3 separate regions of the Homo sapiens genome follow, and all the other regions are linked to region 1. Evidence: promoter capture Hi-C in 16 types of primary human blood cells and fetal thymus (Javierre and others, 2016). All regions are on one chromosome and are shown on one strand. Each heading gives the region's core, a stretch centred on a gene start or on the middle of the fragment in contact. The rest is flanking DNA. Distances are from core to core; before and after follow the strand shown. Region 1 holds the start of SRFBP1 (serum response factor binding protein 1). Region 2 has its middle 15 kb from the start of PRRC1. Region 3 overlaps PRRC1 (proline rich coiled-coil 1).

Region 1 (3,248 bases), core at 411-2,910:
GGGTGCACAAAGAACAGACACCTAACCCAGACCGAGAGGAGTTAATGAAGGTTTCCTAAAGGTCAAATTTTAACTGTTTTGAAGAAGAACAAAAGTTAGCTAAGTGTGAAAAGAGTCTTTAATGACTCATCCCCTGTCATTTCCATCATCAAAGTCATTACAAAATTTGATATGAAGCTCCCTGGGGTTGAAATCCCAGGGACATTACTCTGATCTTTCATACATCACAGGTAACCTAATGCAAAATAGCCCACCAAACGCTTTCTGGCACAAAGCACAAGCTTAATGTATGTTTATGAGTAAATAGTAACTACTTTCAGCTTCCCTCTTCAGCATATCCTGTACTCCACTGTCAACTGAAATCCTGACTCGTTAATCTGGCAGCAGAGAATATATTTCAGTTTTATTTCCTTCTTCATCTCACAAGTTCCCATCAGTGAAGAGTTACTTATCCCTGTATTACCCACGGGTTCTTCTGCTACTAGCCCTTTCCTGCTTATACCAGTCCCTCTGCCTGGAATGACTTCTTCCCCTTTCCTGAATCACTGACTGCAATTCCTGTGCAAGATCCCTAAAGACCAAGGACAAGTATCACCCATTTCATTTTGCCGCCTTTGGAAACTTTTCTGCATTACTAGGTTTTGGAGGCATTCTTCACACATTGTTCTGTAACACAGGTGAGTGTTGCTTAGCTCTCTTACTTGAGTATAGGTTACTAGAAAATATGAAATATCCCTTACACTACTGTGTGTAATCTAAACAGTGACTTGCTCATAAACGGGATAAAGAATTTCCTTTCTGTATCTAACTGTGAGGTCCTTACTCGATCCTTATGTTTCCAGCTTACTTTAAGACTTTGGATGACATTATTTTGTTGAATAGAAGCAGAAACCAGAGGGGGATAAGTGGTAGAAATGGTATTTTGTCGACACCGCACACTATGGAAGTGACGGTGGTGAGAACAAATGTCTGATGAGAATGGACTGAAAAAGCAGAAAAAAGAATTGAGGATAGCAAGTATAAACAGCTCTTTATTGAAGTTCTGCTGTAAACGGAAGCAAAGAAATAGGACACTAACTGGAAGAGGAAACGAAGTACTGAGCATACAGTCTCATTCAAGACCACCAATTTCTTAGAAGCTACAGCTCTTACTTTCTCTCTTTCATTTTCGACAGGCAATAAAGAGCAGGTAATGTGTACTGAAAGTTTATTAAGGGTCAGGCACTTGCAAATACTTTACGTATCTCAGTTAATCTCACAACCCTGGGACGAACTATCTTGAGTTCCGCTTTACAGACGAGAATATTGAACGTACAGGCTAAAGGTTCTTCCCAAAGTCCCACAGACATAAATTCGTGGGGCCTGACACATGTCTCTCACTTTAGTCACCTGGAGACCGAAAAGGGAAATTACCGGTTGCCAAACTCCAAGTTGCGGGAAACCCGCCTGGGCCCACCACGAAAGTTCCTCCAACCGCACCCTCTATGCCCGCCTCCGACCACGCGTCTCAAAAGAGCTGGTTTTGAGGACCCTTAAAGTCAGCCCCATAGGTTCCTCGGCGCTCACCTCGTTATTGAGGTTCAGAGTTCCCGGCTGAGCCATGGTAGATGAAGGAATATGATCCGCCGCTGCCTGCACGTGAACCGGTCTCTCAGACCGCGGCTGCGTCGCCACGCCCCTCAACGGAAGCCTCTTCTGTCCAAAACTCATCCGCCTTCTGCTCTAGCTGCCGCCTGGGAACAAGAAACATTGACGCTTGGAAGGGAAAACCGGAACTGAGACAGAACAACTACCGGCGCAGAGGGCTACGCAACGGAATTGCGCGTTCCTATGGAAACCAGACGGGGGCTGGTAGCTGGGCAACGTCTAGTTTTTCAAGATTCGGTTTGTGTGTGTGTGTGTGTGTGTGTGTGTGTGTGTGTGTGTGTGTGTGTGTTCCCTTGGTACACTGCGCTCGCATTGTACCGGCCTTGGTTTTTCTCTCTAATGGCTAGGGGGGCGCTGAACGGCGGTGAAAGAGCTCTTCTGAAATGATCACTTGAATGAACGATTTTTTGCTTCCATTTTTTTAAATCTAGTATTTGTGAAGATTTCTGCTTTTCTAACAAGCACACCTTTTTAAATCCTCGCAGTTTTTTGTTACAACCTGACATTATAGCTGAGGTGCGGACATTTTTTTCCTGCACACTATAGAAGGGTTTAAATTTAGGGAATAAACATTTGAAGCAAAACCAGGATACACATTTGGTACTGCCTGTGGGAATGGCTGTTTATTAGCCGGCAAGCATAGGAGACGTAAGGGAGTGTGTTTGAATTAGGTAATATATAATTGTCAACACCTTCTAGTATTGACCATTAAAATGTGTCAAATGGTGGTCCAAGAGCTTTACATAAATTAGCTCCAAATCTCCACAGAAATCCAACAAGATAGAAATTATTTTCCTTTTATTAATATTATTTTGTTAGAGACCCAGTCTCTCTTTGTCATCCAGGCTGGTGTGCAGTGGCACAGTCATAGCTCACTGCAGCCTCAAACTCTTGGGCTCAAGCCATCCTCTCACCTCAGCCTTCCAAATAACTAGGACTACAGGAGTGAGCCACCCTACTCTGCTCTGAACTATTATTTTACAGATGTGGAAAGTGACTTCAGAGGCACCAAGTGCCTCGCCCAGAGTCACTTGCCTGGGACTGTCCACTGCTACAGGACTTCAAGTCCAGCTACATAATACCTGGGGTACAGTGCAAAATGAAAATCCAGGCCCCTTTATTCAAAATGCAGGAAAAACGTTTCTTCCGGCGGAGGGTGGTGGCTCATGCCTGTAATCCCAGTACTTTAGGAAGCCTAGGCGGGCGGATCACCTGAGGTCGGGAGTTCGAGACCAGCCTGACCAACGTGGAGAAACCCCGTCTCTACTAAAAATACAAAATTAGCCGACCGTGGTGACGCATGCTTGTAATCCCAGCTACTCGGGAGGCTGAGGCAGGAGAATCACTTGAACCTGGGAGGCGGAGGTTGCCGTGAGCCAAGATCACTCCAGACTGGGCAACAAGAGTGAAACTTCGTCTCAAAAAAAAAAAAAAGTTTCTTCCATAGCGTCTCTTGACTCATCATGGTGTTTGTTAATTTACTATTTAATACGATGCTCCCTAAAGCACAGAGACATTAGGTTGTCAGGGCAGACCCTCAAAGGTGCCTGAGACCCCTGCCCCAAGACTCAGGTAGGAGTGTATACACTGGAGCAAGGTGG
Region 2 (3,474 bases), core at 175-2,674, 5.5 Mb before region 1:
AATGGATATCGCCAAGTCGCTCTGCATTGATGTCATACCAGTTTATACTCTCACCAGTGAACTATGAGTGCCTGCTTCCCTACTTCTTCTCCAACTACAGTTTGTTACCAAAGATTTGAATCTTTGCTAATTTACAGGTGTGTTTATCATATTAAGAGTAAAATTATTTTATGTGTTTAAGGTTATTTGTGCTTCTTTTGCTGTGATCTCCATCTTATATTATCTTCTTGATTTTTAAAAGTTAGTTTATGGGAGATCTTCACACCATAAGAAAATTAGTCCTATATATGCAATGCATGTTGCAAATATTTTGCCTTCTTTGTGATATGAATTCTGTCTTTGTGTGTGTGTGTGTGCATGTTGCCATATATAAATTTTTTCTAGAGCAAAATTTATTATATCTTTAAAATCAGCTCATCTATATTAAAATAAAACTCAGATGGTATTTTTATGGGGATCCTATATTTTAAAATATAGATTAAAAAGATTCATTTTAATTTATATTGTCTTATAGATAGGGTCTCACTACATTGACTAGGCTGGCTTAGAACTTTTGGACTCAAGTCATCCTCCCACCTCAGCCCCTGAGTAGTTGGAACTACTGGCACATGCCATTGTGCCTGGCAGAAATATAGACAAATATTTTTCATAAGCTTCTCTTAGGTATTTAATCTTTTTTCTTGCCATTATTGATAGAGTCTTTTATTACATTTTATGGTTGATTATTTCTTGCATATAGGAAGGCTATTTATTTAATATTAATTTTGTAACCAGTCACCTTACTGAACTGGCTTGTTTCCAATAGCTTATGAATTGATTTGCTTTTATTTACTCTTCCTTTACAATATTTTTACTTCTTATATTCATATTTTCATCTTCTAATTTTGAAAAATTGACTAAGGTTTTATTTGTGGTCTAAAATATGGTCAGTTTACTCCAATGCTTTGTGGGTATGTGAAAAGAATGTGAAGTCATGGAATTTAATTCCATGCAGAGCAATTAGTTAGCAAACTTAACTTATTACTTACATTATTTATGTGTTCCATTTACAAACTTATTTTTTATTCACTTGCTATGTCATGAACTGAGATATGGGCATTAAAACTGCCTGTACCTAATGTGTTTCTATTTCCTCTTGTGTTTCCTGTAATTTTTGCTTTAAGTATGTTGATACGAGGTTATTTTATTCATAGATATACATAATGATGAGATCATTGAAGTGGATTGTATCCTTTATTATTTTCTTTACATTTGTCTGATAGGCCTTTACTCATTCTTTTGTTTTCATTTTTTCTGAGTGATTTTATCTTAGATACATATCTTGAATTTGAAAATATAATTACATTTTGCTTTATGATTTAGTTTGAGACTTTTTAAAATGAGGAGTTAATCTACTTACCTTTATTTATATGGCATATATGTTTACTTTTTATCTGATATATTTCATATTATATTTCATATTGTGTTTTCAGTTATTTTTTTCCTTTTTATAATTTTTTGTTATATCATCTATAATATTTTGTATATGTGTGTATTGTCTGGTAATTTGGAGAGTTCATGTTTTTGTACTAATGGTTATATTTATAACTACTACTTTATGTTGTATATTTAACTTTATGTATTAGCATCTATTGATTCCCTACTATGAGAAAAGATGAAACCAGTATACACCCATGGTTCTCCTGACTGCTACCATCTCACTTCAGTTGATTATATATTTTTGGTAGTATCTACCTTTTCTCTTTTTTGAGACAGGGTCTCACTCTGTCACCCAGGCTGGAGTGCAGTGTTGCGATCACGGCTGACTGCGGTCTCAACCTCTCTGGGTTCAGGTGATCCTCTCACCTCAGGCTCCCAAGTTGCTGGGACTACAGGTGCACCCCATTACACCTGGTTAATTTCTTTGTATCTTTTTGTAGAGACGGGGGTTTCTCTATGTTGCCCATGTTGGTCTCGAAATCCTGGGCTCAAGCCATCTACCCACCTCATCCTTCCAAAGTGCTGGGATTACAGGTGTGAGCTATCACTCTCAGTGGTAGTATTTACCTTTAAATTTTAAAATGAGACACTTGTGTTACTTGACTTACGGGCTTAATATGATTCCCAAGACCCTTCCTAGTCTTCTGGTCTGTACCTCCAATCTAAACTTCTTACATCTAATCTGAGAGTCAAAATCAGAGTCTAGACAAGCTTAAAACTAAGTCACTGTGGCAGAAAATCTGAGCAGGGCAATATAAAAATTAGCAGCTATGGGCAAATCTGGGATCTATATTTTCAGAAATTTGGGCAAAGAGAAGCAAGGAAGCATTATAGGAAGCAATGATTTTCAATTAAATTTGGAGGAGCAAAATAAAATGGACTTTGTAAGAATACTCTTGGAAATGAATATGAAGTTTGTGAAGTTGGAATCTATGAAGGAGTCAGTGAAGCCAAGTTCATGTTCTGAATGTGGGATTTCTGCTGCCACTATCTAATGAAGACAGGTGCTTCTTGTTGTAAAGCTAAATATATGGCCCAGTGCGGTGGCTCACACCTGTAATCCCAGCACTTTGGGAGGCAGAGGTGGGCAGATCAACTGAGGTCAGGAGTTCGAGACCAGCCTGACCAATATGGTGAAACCCCGTCTCTACTAAAAATACAAGAATTAGCCGGGCATGGTTGCGAATGCCTGTAATCTCAGCTACTCAGGAGGCTAAGGCAAGAGAATCGCTTGAACCCGGGAGGCGGAGGTTGCAGTGAGCCAAGATCGCGCCATTGCACTCCAGCTTGGGGGACAAGAGCGAGACTTCATCTCAAAAAAAAAAAAGAAAAGAGATAATGTGGGCCTTCTTCATTTATCAATATCAGAACCCTTCTACCTGAATATAGGCAAAGTAAAGCCCTATATAACTAGAAACATCTATCAGAAAGAACAGTAGACGAGTGGTATGCTCACTGGAACATATATAGATTAAACACGAAAAAGGTGTTAGGACTGATTACTGACACATTTCTTACATTACTCACCAACACTGGTTTTGGCTGGAAAAACAAATCAAGCAGCCAAAGATGTAAGAATATAAAACTACAATATTAAGGGTAATTGTTCTGGTTTTCAGACATAAAAATATCTTGGCAACTGTTGTAACTACTGCCAGACACTCCAACAGTCTGATTTTGTCATGAGATTTTATTTCTCCTTAACGAAGCAACTAAAAATCAGTAAAAAATCCTACTTGTACAAAATTCTAACATAAAATCTTAACTGTGTAAGCATTTTTAAAAGTCAAAACAAATTTAAGAAATGAAATTTTGCATCCATGTTATCTTTGGAAGAATAATGATCAAATCAAAACTTCAACTGTAATACCATGTTATTATGGTCATCAAATCCAAATTTGACAAAACATTAAGCAATGTAAATTTAATTTCAGCAATAGAAAATAGAAAATTTTTTCCTCAAAATGAAAAAATTATTGATTGTTTCATGAGACT
Region 3 (3,470 bases), core at 963-3,462, 5.6 Mb before region 1:
GGTTTGTTTTGGTGTATTTTTAATAAAATAAAGCGATTTTTCATCCCTAGTTTGAGCATAAAAACCTATGCCCTGAAGGCTCAGAAAGGTTAATCACCACAAAGTCATAGAGCAGTAGGCCGAGCGCAGTGGCTCACACCTGTAATCCCAGGACTTTGGGAGGCTGAGGCAGGTGGATCACCTGAGGTCAGGAGTTTGAGACCAGCCTGGCCAAAATTGTGAAATCCCATTTCTACTAAAAATACAAAAATTAGCTGAGCATGGTGGTGAGTGCTGTAATTGCAGCTACTTGGGAGGCTGAGGCAGGAGAATCACTTGAACCTGGGAGGCGGAGGTTGCAGTGAGATGAGATCGCACCACTGCACTCCAGCCTGGGTGACAAGTGAAACTCCGTCTCAAAAAAAAGAAAAAGAACAGAAGACAAAGCTAACACATGCTTTTTAGGATATTTCTGCCATAATATAAATGATGGTAAAATTATGAACATAAAGAACAAAAGTCCACCTAAAGCAAAACACTGATGTTTTCTTACTTTAAATACACAAGACTTTCTTTCTATTCTTTAAATTAAAAAGGCTATTTCCTTTCATCCTGAAAAATAATAGAGAAGTTTTAATATATGCATTCTTTTCTTAATTGACTCTGAGAAAAGATGATAGTATCTTCACTATTCTCAAAACACACGAGATGTTAGACAACTACATGTACCTAATGGAACAGGGGTAGAAGACATAGCAGTAGCAGCCAGCCCTGCAGGATTTGGTGGAGGAGTCCCAGGTGGTGTTGTCTCTATTCCACTCTCTTCCATCATTTTTCTTCAATTATGGTATACTATAAAAACACAAAAATGTAACAAATATTACACAGTAACCAAAAGTATATTTTTAAAGCTTGAATAGAGAACGACTAAAAAAAAAATCATCAAGAGATAGATGTCCACCTTTACTGTTTATAATGCAACTTATTTCCAGACGAAGAGTTTGTCCAAATTTCTAAGAAAGCAATCTATGAGAATATTTAATATCAAACAATCTGTAACATTCCCATGTAGATACTTTATAAGTGGGAAATAATTTCATGTTATAATAACAATATAACTAATTATCTACTACATTTCAAATAGTAAATTACTAATTTGATTTCTGCCACATGAATGCATGTTAGAGATAGTTATGTCTGGGCCAGGTGTGGTGTCCCATGCCTATAATCCCAGCACTCTGGGAGGCCAAGACGGGAAGCATTTGAGGCTAGGAGTTGTAGACAAGCCTGGGCAACATAGCAAGATCTCATTTCTAAAAAATAAAATAAGTAAATAATATAAATTTCAGTCATTATTAAATTTAAAATAAAAATGAGGCTGGGCACAGTGGCTCACGTCTGAAATCCCAGGACTTTGGGAGGCTGTGATGAGAAGATGCCTTGAACCCAGGAGTTCAAGGTTGCAGTGAGCTATGACTGCACCACTGCACTCCAGCCTGCGTGACAGAGCAAGATCTCTAAAAATAAATAAATAAAATATTTAATGTATTTTTGAAGCCCTTCCTCTTCTCTCATAAAGTACTGTGTATAAGATAACCCCATTAACATAAAAAAAAAATAAAGCCAGGCACAGTGGCTGACCGCTGTAAACCTACACTTTGGGAGGTAGAGGTGGGAGGATCCCTTGAGACCAGGAGTTTGAGACCAGCCTGGGCACCATAGGAAGACTCCATCTCTACAAAAAAATTAAAAAATTAGCCAGGCAGGGTGACATGTGCCTATGGTCCCAGCAACTCAGGATGCTGAGGTGAGAGGATCACCTGATCCCAGGAGGTTGAGGCTGCAGGGAGCAGTGAGAATGCCACTGTACTCCAGCCTGGGCAACAAAGCAGGACCTTGTCTCAATAAAATAAAATAAAATGTGCTTCACTTGATAAAAGCATTAATTCACAATTTTCCTAGTTCACATTTTAAAGCATATCCAGTAACAGATAAATTGTATATCTGAGGTTTTAGAAAAGTTAACTATAGCAAAAATGCCATTAGATAGCAGCATCCTAATAGACAACAATGGATTATAAAATATGAGAAAACTTTCTTTAAAATTACAAATCCTGAAGTGTATCTCAAGTACAGAACCAACTTCTAAATATGCTATATTTGTTTTTAATATTTTTATTCATTTAATAAGTTTTTAGCGAAGGTCAACTGCTTGACGAGCACTATACTGATGCCTTTGGAAATGACAATGATTAGCAAAAACAAATAGGATACTTACAGTCTAGTACACGAAACAATCAAATAATAAACCAATTTACAATGAATGGTAGCTGAATTATGTGCTCTGAGGGTAAGAACACAGTTTTGTTTGACAGGAATATGATTTTGACTTGGAGGTAAGGAAAGGGTTCCCCAAATAAGTCACAGATAAACCGAGATTTGAAGGATAAGAACTTAATTAGGCAAGGGAAGAAAGGCAGAGTCCAGAAAAAGTGAATATATAGCAAATATATATACCAACTGAGCTGGGAAGAACAAGATACATTCAATAAAATCCATGTGAAGGGAGAGAAAGAAGAATCAGGACTGGAGGGACAGACAGAAGCCCAGAAGGTGTTCAGCCTCATAAACCAGGTTAAAAAACTTGGGTTTTTAAAGAACAGAGTGTCACTGTGTTAGAAATAAATTTTCGGTGCCACAAAAGAAATAGCACTCGAACATAAATTTAATTTTCTCAGCAAGGCAATTTTACTTCTATAGAAGGGTGTGTCTCACAGATGGAGCAATGTCAAGAGCACACCTGAACAAGGGAGGGGAAGGGGTTCTTATCCTAACGCAGCTAGTCCCTACTGCTGTGTCTTTCCCCCATTGGCTAGGGTTGGACCACGCAGTCTAAGCTAATTCCAACTGGCTATTTTAAAGAGAGCAGGGGTATGAGCCAGAGCAGCAGGGTGAGTAGTTTGGCGGGAAGGACGGTTACAGAACAGGTGATCCAGGATGACTAAGAACAGAGCAGATGACCAAGGATTACTAAGGTCAGAGCAGGTGACCAAGGGTGACTAAGGTCAGAGCAGTTGATAGAGGCTAGAAGGGGATTGTTTACTGAAACTGGGGGCAAGGAGAAATAAAGAACTAGGAATTTAAACTTTAAAATGAAGAACAAAGAACAGGGGAGCTGAACATACTGATACACTGGTTCTTTGGAGAGGATCTCAGAACTCATTGTACTTAACAATTTACAGGCTAAAATCTATGAAGAGAAATTTATCATATCCTACAACTGTAAGGCATTCAAGCTGAGGGTAGCATAACTGTCTTTTGTTTTAACTGTTTTGAAGGAATTTTAGGTTCAAAAAAAAAATGTAGAAACAGCAGAGTTCTTGAGTACCCCAAACCCAGCTTCTCTCAGTAACAGCATCTTACATAACTACACTACAATGATCAAAACCATGAAACTGACATTGGTACAACACTATTAACTATAGATCTTA

Evidence for each region. The method cuts DNA at HindIII sites, captures the fragments that hold promoters and counts their contacts. A CHiCAGO score of 5 or more calls a contact.
Region 2: a contact is called between a fragment that was not itself captured here and the fragment with the promoter of SRFBP1 in region 1, in 1 of 17 cell types (total B cells). The highest score is 5.1, in total B cells.
Region 3: a fragment that was not itself captured here is called in contact with the fragment with the promoter of SRFBP1 in region 1 in 3 of 17 cell types (total CD4 T cells, naive B cells and total B cells); the score reaches 9.4 in total CD4 T cells.

Annotation. Positions count from the first base shown.
Region 1 is chr5:121,960,387-121,963,634 of GRCh38, reverse strand. SRFBP1 (serum response factor binding protein 1) reads right to left here and starts at 1,660. Exons shown (of 8, transcript NM_152546.3): 1 at 1,567-1,660. The coding sequence starts at 1,602. RefSeq lists enhancers at 1,675-1,724, 1,469-2,007. The HindIII fragment of the contact is 3,156 bases long and covers 284-3,248 here.
Region 2 is chr5:127,500,421-127,503,894 of GRCh38, reverse strand. No RefSeq gene overlaps it. Among named protein-coding and RNA genes, the nearest start is that of PRRC1, 15 kb to the left of the region's middle. The HindIII fragment of the contact is 1,537 bases long and covers 656-2,192 here.
Region 3 is chr5:127,520,821-127,524,290 of GRCh38, reverse strand. It overlaps PRRC1 (proline rich coiled-coil 1), which reads right to left. Exons shown (of 9, transcript NM_130809.5): 2 at 709-831. The coding sequence starts at 811. Among named protein-coding and RNA genes, the nearest start is that of PRRC1, 4.9 kb to the right of the region's middle. The HindIII fragment of the contact is 2,639 bases long and covers 893-3,470 here.